Regions from separate parts of the Homo sapiens genome. Here region 2 is linked to region 1. The links are contacts of gene promoters, found by promoter capture Hi-C in human tissues and cell types (Jung and others, 2019). All regions are on one chromosome and are shown on one strand. The core of a region is centred on a gene start or on the middle of the fragment in contact, and the rest is flanking DNA. Distances in the headings are between cores, read along the strand shown.

The links. Contacts are between HindIII fragments. The study calls those that stand out against the background at their distance.
Region 2: a contact is called between a fragment that was not itself captured here and the fragment with the promoter of CEBPZ in region 1, in 1 of the 25 tissues and cell types used here (heart right ventricle).

Annotation. Positions count from the first base shown.
Region 1 is chr2:37,230,262-37,233,607 of GRCh38, forward strand. CEBPZ (CCAAT enhancer binding protein zeta) reads right to left here and starts at 1,335. Exons shown (of 16, transcript NM_005760.3): 1 at 1,151-1,335. The coding sequence starts at 1,306. NDUFAF7 (NADH:ubiquinone oxidoreductase complex assembly factor 7) reads left to right here and starts at 1,397. Exons shown (of 10, transcript NM_144736.5): 1 at 1,397-1,499; 2 at 1,845-2,005. The coding sequence starts at 1,445. RefSeq lists enhancers at 680-1,879, 837-1,286. The HindIII fragment of the contact is 15,525 bases long and covers 1-3,346 here.
Region 2 is chr2:38,846,444-38,850,212 of GRCh38, forward strand. DHX57 (DExH-box helicase 57) reads right to left here. Exons shown (of 24, transcript NM_198963.3): 10 at 1,826-1,959; 11 at 576-630. The region is part of intron 2 of LOC105374470 (a long non-coding RNA gene); the gene reads left to right. Among named protein-coding and RNA genes, the nearest start is that of DHX57, 28 kb to the right of the region's middle. RefSeq lists an enhancer at 3,687-3,769. The HindIII fragment of the contact is 5,686 bases long and covers 1-3,769 here.

The DNA of each region.
Region 1 (3,346 bases), core at 85-2,584:
TATGTAAAAAAGATACACCCGTATTTCATACACATAAATGAGTATGTATATGCTTGAAAAGGTATATAGTATCCCTGAAAGATATAAAATGCAGTTGTAAAAATAATTGCTTCCTATCAGGGCAATGGTTATGGCTGAGATAAAAGTGGAAACAATTTGACTTCACTATGTATCTTTTAAAGTTTGCACCACGTGTTTCATGTGTATATATTACCTATTCAAAACTTAAATATACACAAGCACAGAGCAAACTGTGAATCTGCCTATCTCTAACTAACTCCTCCACCTTGAAAGTCCAGTCTCCAAACAAAATAATATTAAAAACAAAGTTAATTTCTGTTCCTTATCTGCTTAAAATCTTCCAGTGGTTTTGCATCAAACTCAGAGCAAAAGCCTGCCCTCTGACCCCTCGGCCCTCCTTTCTTACTATTCTCCCCTTAACTCACTCTGCCTCTGCTACACTGGCATTTTGGCTGCTCATGGAATAGGTTAGGCACTCTTCTGCCTGTCTTTGCATTTGCTGTTCCAACTGACTGGAATGGCAGCTCACTCCTTCCTGTCCTTTAGGATTCTGCTCAAACATTTCCGTGATGTGTTTGTCGATCATCTCATTTAATACTAACGCGCTCCCACTCCTTATCGTCCTTCCTTGTTTTATTTTCTTTTATAGCACTACCCCGCGTCTGCTGTACTATGTGTTTAAAAGTTTGTTTACTGTTTCTCTCCCTTAATTAGGATGCTCCAAAAAAGAGGGCTTCTGGGGCATACAGTGACACGTGCATGTACTCTATGAGAACAGAAATGAAAATTCCAATACCACTGGTGTTCAAAACACTCATACCACAAGGTCAGGACCAAGAAAAGCCACTCTCCGACCTGATGGTGTGATGGTTATACCACGTCAATAAAATCAGAAGATCGCCTACATCCTAAGAATAGCCAGAGAATACAACGTTCAATTCGAAACTTTTCTTTTGTAAACAGCAGTGGAAACCGGCGTGGGAAGCGCACCGAACACATGCTTCAGAGGCTGGGATCTCGGTCCTGGACGCCCGCGCTCTACGCAGCGCGGAAGCGGCGGGGCAGTCAGCCTAGCCACCTTCGGAACTCTCCACGCCTGATCCCGTTCCCCGGAGCCCGCGGCCGTTACCTTGGTGCCTCCGAGCCGTAACACTTCCTCCAGGGAGAACCCATTCTCGGCTTCACTAGTATTATCCTCATCCTCCTCGTCCGGATCTTCTACTGCCTCCTCGGGGCGCCAAGGCCGCTTGGCATGGAACTCCAAAGGCTCCTTGACTGCGGCCATGGCGGGCAAAGCATACGCGCGTGAAACTCAGCCTATTTCCGCTCTGCCAGTGGCGTAATTCCTGTCGGGGCGTGTCTTCTCCCGGAAATGGTCTAAGCCCCAGCTCCTGGCGGAGCGAGCTAGCCTGCGAATTTCAGCATGAGTGTACTGCTGAGGTCAGGTTTGGGGCCGTTGTGTGCCGTGGCGCGCGCAGGTAAGCGTCAGTCCCCTCGAAGCCCGGTTGCCGTGGAAGCCGCGTGGGGCGCCTTCCTCAGCTCTTCAGTTGAGGGTACCGGGGGATCAAGGGCTCGGGGGCTCACTTCCACCTTGAAGGTACCCTGGGCTGGAAACGGGTCCGGTACAAACGCAATAGGGCTGCGTAGTCGTGGGCAAGTGGGTGCTGTCTCTGCGCCCCGTGGGCGTGCTAAGCACAGTAGCCCGCGGTCTGCGGTGGGGCGAGGTTAAGGGTTCACGAAGCTGTTTTGAAAACGCTCAGGCGGCTTGCGCTCGTGAATGGTCAGATTTATCATGGGGTCTGTTTAATTTGTGTTTTTCGCAGCCATTCCTTTTATTTGGAGAGGGAAATACTTCAGCTCCGGGAATGAGCCTGCAGAAAACCCGGTGACGCCGATGCTGCGGCATCTTATGTACAAAATAAAGTCTACTGGTCCCATCACTGTGGCCGAGTACATGAAGGAGGTGTTGACTAATCCAGCCAAGGTATGGGTCGGGTAGCCCGAGGACTAGGCCCTCTCTAGCCGATTTGCGAGGTGCAAGCCAGGAGGGAGAAGCCCGAAGGTTCTCAGCCCAGGCAGTGGGGGTGCCTGCCAGGGGAAGAGCCATTTCTGAGGACCTGGGGACAGATAATTTGTCAGTTGGTCAGGGCTGGCTCACGTCAGAGGCAGTGCCAGTAAAGAGGAGAGGACACGGTCCAAGGGTGTTTAGGAGACAGAATGTAGCTGATTGGATTTATGATGCGGGAAGGATGACTTTCCTACTTGGCTGATGGTGGGTGGTGTGGATTCATTGCTTTGGGAGAAGGAATACGGGAGGAAGGATGGAGAGTTCAGGCTGGTATATGAATTTGAAGTGTGTGGGACTCTTAGGTAGAAATCTCCAACAGGCAGCTGGAAATAGGAATTACTGCCTGGAAAGTCGTCTGTGTTGGAATGGCTTCAGCTGGCATTGGAGACATGTGCTGGGTTTTCTCACATGTGCAGTTGAGAATGCAGTCTGGGTCGTCTTCACTGTTCTAGGATTAGGCACAGTCACAGCTTTCTGACCCACGTTTCCTTGTCTGTTCTACAGAGCCATTTGGTGAAAGCCTATAGTCCTTTATTTTAGAATATTTCATCTTTTGCTGGGTTGAAATATGACCTCTGTGGAATTCTGGGGTTAGATTGGCCATTGTTGTTGGATATGGTAGTGTGACTCTAGTGTCGAGGTTTACCCAAGGCCGGTATCTTTCTTTCGATGCCGGTTAGGCAGGGCTGCAAGATAGGTGGCTTAGACTAGTGTGGTGGTACTAGAAATAGAAGAGGGTGATTTAGAAAGGGACTGACAGGATTTGCCGATGGATTGAGTGATGGAACGGAGGAATCAAGGCTGATTCGTACTTTTAGCTTGAGCAGTTGGGTGATGATGGTACCTTTTATTGAGATTAAGACAGACAGGACCAGGTTTGGAGGAGTACTAGGGAGAGGGCCTACACCAGGAGCTGCATTTTATACATATTTTGTTAGCAGTGACATGCAGGTGGAGATAGAAAGTAGGCAATTCGCTGTAAGAGTCTGGCGTTCAGGGCCGGACGTGGCGGCTCACGCCTGTAATCCCAGCACTTTGGGAGGCCAAGGCGGGTGGATCACGAGGTCAGGAGTTTGAGACCAGCCTGACCAACTTGGTGAAACCCCGTCTCTATTAAAAATACAAAAATTAGCCGGGCGTGGTGGCTTGTGCCTGTAATCCCAGCTAGTCAGGAGGCAGGAGAATCGCTTGAACCCGGGACGCAGAGGTTGCAGTGAGCCTAGATTTCGCCATTGCACTCCAGCCTGGGCAACAGAG
Region 2 (3,769 bases), core at 306-2,805, 1.6 Mb after region 1:
GACCCGTCTCTACAAAACCATTAAAAAAAATTAGGCATGGGGGTGTGTGTCTGTAGTTCAGCTACTCAGGAGGCTGAAGTAGAAGGACTGCTTGAGCCAGGTATTCGAGGCTGCAGTGAGCTATGATTACACCACTGCACACCAGCCTGGGCAACAGAGTAAGACTCTATCTCAAAAAAAAAAAAAAAGAAAGAAAGAAAAAGTAAGTAGAGGGACTTAAATATTGGCAGTCTGTTTGCTGAAAGAGAGGGGAGAACAAAATGTTCAAACAGAAAAAATAGAAGAAAATCACTTCTTGGCTTTTTGGCTGAAATCAAGTGCAGAAAAATTAGAAAAAAAGACTAACACATGTATTAGTATTCTGGCACATTGAGGGTCAAATATTATTCTGTTTTCAAAGTTTCACTGAATCTTTTTTTTTTTCTCAATAGATGGGGGTCCCAATATGTTGCCCAAGCTGGTCTTGAACTGGCCCCAAAAGATCCTCCCACCTTTGCCTTCCAAAGTGCTAGAATTACAGGGATGAACCACCATGCCAGGTCCTTTCACTGAATCTTAATTAATATCTTCCTTACCTTGTCACAGCAATTGCATCTTCCAAAAAAAATTGATCAACAGGAAATGTACGACCTAGAAAAACAAGGAGACAAAATAGAAAGCCTGAGAACACCCATTCAACCATCTTGAAATAGTTTATATATATAAAATTCTCTTAAAGCTTGTCATGCTAACGTCCTATTTGTTCTGTGGTCTTAAAAGTATCAAGAAGAAAAGTTCTGGTAACAGAAATTGGAAAGGGCAGATTTCAGTCAGTAAACAGAAGCAGTGTATAGGTAGAGAAATGATCCTTTGCTAAGACTTTTTTTCTTTTACCTGTTACACCTTTCATACCCTCCTCCCCTGCCCCCGCCACTTCCACCATAGAGGACCTTTAAACATTCAACAGTTGTATTCTAGATCAAACACAAAGTTTCTTCCTTAGATTTACTGCCAGCATTCCCTATAACTAAAACAAACTGCACTATTTTTTATCAGTCAGTGTTTCCAAAGTGTCTTTTTAGTATTCAATTGAAGAAGGATAAATCAAAGCTCAGGGTGATAAATTAATTCCACAATGAGACTGTGGAAGTGCCCAAAGAAAACACAGACTGTCCAATGTCACTTTCTGCCAGAGTGGACCAACACCCAGAAATTTAGCAGAATCCAGAAATGAACAAATATACTGTCACAGACACAAGTTCCCTCTTTATGACAGACTGCCACTATCAACTTTGATGTTAAACACAATGGAATGCTAGAAATAAGTAACTATGACTTTTTTTAAAAGTCCCCTAAAAAAATTAAAATCTCCCAGCAATGGCCGGGTGCAGTGGCTCACACCTGTAATCCCAGCACTTTGGGAGGCCGAGGCGGGCAGATCGTGAGGTCAGGAGATGGAGACCATCCTGGCTAACACAGTGAAACCCCGTCTCTACTAAAAATACAAAAAATTAGCTGGGTGAGGTGGCGGGCACCTGTAGTCCCAGCTACTCGGGAGGCTGAGGCAGGAGAATGGCATGAACCCGGGAGGCAGAGGTTGCAGTGAGCCGAGATCACGCCACTGCACTCCAGCCTGGGTGACAGAGCGAGACTCTGTCTCAAAAAAAAAAATCTCCCAGCAAGATATGTTACCTCCTTATCAGCTGCATTATATGGTTTATGATTTTATGTTATAAATGAATCGCTTCTCTAGAAAGAGGTATAAATATCTACTTATGTCTCAAACTTTAAAATAATTATATTTGCTTATTAGAATGATACATATTTAATGATGCATTTTATTCACCTGGTATAGTAATAACGGGGCAGGAATTAAAATAGTCTGAAAAAAGCTCAGCGTTTAGAGTTGCACTCATTAAAATAACTTGAAGACCTGGCCTCTGCGATACAATGTCCTTCAAAACTAGCAGCAAGAAGTCACTAGAGAAAATAAAAGAAACACCTGAGGATCAAACAAATTCAACACATGAAAATTAGTAACTTTTACTATATTTTGAGCAAGAAATGTGTAAGATCTCTGTGAAAAAAAAAAACCATTAACGTTCATAGAACAATATGTCCTGTTCTTGGATGTGAAGCCTTACTATTACAGGTTGAATATCTGTTATGTGAAATGCTTGGAACCAGAAGTGTTTCAGATTTCAAATTTTCTCAGATTTTAGAATAGTTGCATATACATAATGAGATATCTGGGGGATGGGGTCTAAATCTAAACAAGAAATCAATTTATGTTTCATATATACCTTATATACACAGCCTAAAGGTAACTGTATATAATATTTTGAATAATTTTGTCTGTGAAATAAAGTTGGTATACATTGAACCATCGGAGAGCAAAGGTGTCAGGTGTGGAATCTTACCACTTGTAGTGTCATGTCAGCACTCAAGAAGTTTCAGATTTTGGATTATTTCTGATTTTTGGATTAGGGATGCTCAACCTGTATAAAGATATAAATTCTTTCCCAAAGAAACCAAATCCAGGCAGTACCAATCAAAATCCCAACAGGATTGATAATCAAATTTTATAATTATTATTTTTTTACTCTTAGCTGGTATAGGGTACAAATTTGATAATTCTACTTCTTGATATCTATGTGTACCACAAAGAGGCACATACAAAGATTTTCATTATAGCATTGTTTGTAATAGTAAGACAGTAGAAACTACCCAAATGTCCATCAACTAACTGATAAATGGTTAATTATAACAATATCATCCAGTCTATGAAATAACATGAAGCAGATACAAGGAATAAGGTAGAGCTCTAGAAAATAACATGAAAACATCTCTAAGACATATTTTTAGTAGGAAAAATCCCAAGTTGCCTGGAATAGTATGCACGGCAGAATAACACCACCCTAATTGGTCTCTTGGCCCTTGCCCCCTTGCAATCTGTTCTCAATACAGCCAACCAATAATGCTCTTCGAATGTCAGTCTGATTGTGCTGACGGGGTGCGGTGGCTCACACTTGTAATCCTAGCAGTTTGGGAGGCTGAGGTGGGAGGAATGCTTGAGGCCAGGAGTTCAAGACCAACCTAGCCGATATAGCAAGACCCCATCTCTTAAAAAAAAAAAAGAAAAATCTGATTGTGCCACTCTTCTGCTTAAAATCCAATGACTTCTCATTAGAATTCTTACTAACAAGGCTCTATATGGCACGGTCTACACCCCATGCTCCCCATCTTTTTCTAGTACTCTCCCGTTCATTCACTCAGCACCGGCTCACTGTTCTCCTTGCCGTCTTTGAGGCATGCACCTTGGGTCTTTTGTACATGTTATTAATCTGCCTGGATTACTGGGCTTCTCCTAGCCCTTCACACAGGTAGCTCCCTCACTTCCTTCAAGTCCTTACTCCAAAGATAGTTTTTCAGTGAGGACTTCCTTGGCTACCTTATTTAAAATTTCAAATGCCCTCCTCCCTTGAATTTCTATTGTCTTTTTTCTGCTTTATTTTTTCTTCTTAGCACTTACCATATTCTGTATTTTACTTATTTATCTTGCTTATTGATGAGCTCTCCCACTAGAATAGAAGTTCTACAAGGACAAGAATTTTATTCACTACTGCAGGATCTACAACAATGCCTGGGACATAGTAAGTACTCAATGAATATTCATTGACTTACTAAATGAATATATCATCTGTGTAAGAAAAAAAGGTCAGAAAACAAAAGTAACTATTTCTAACAAAGTAAACATCTATATCCATGCATAGAAAGATGTACTACCAGT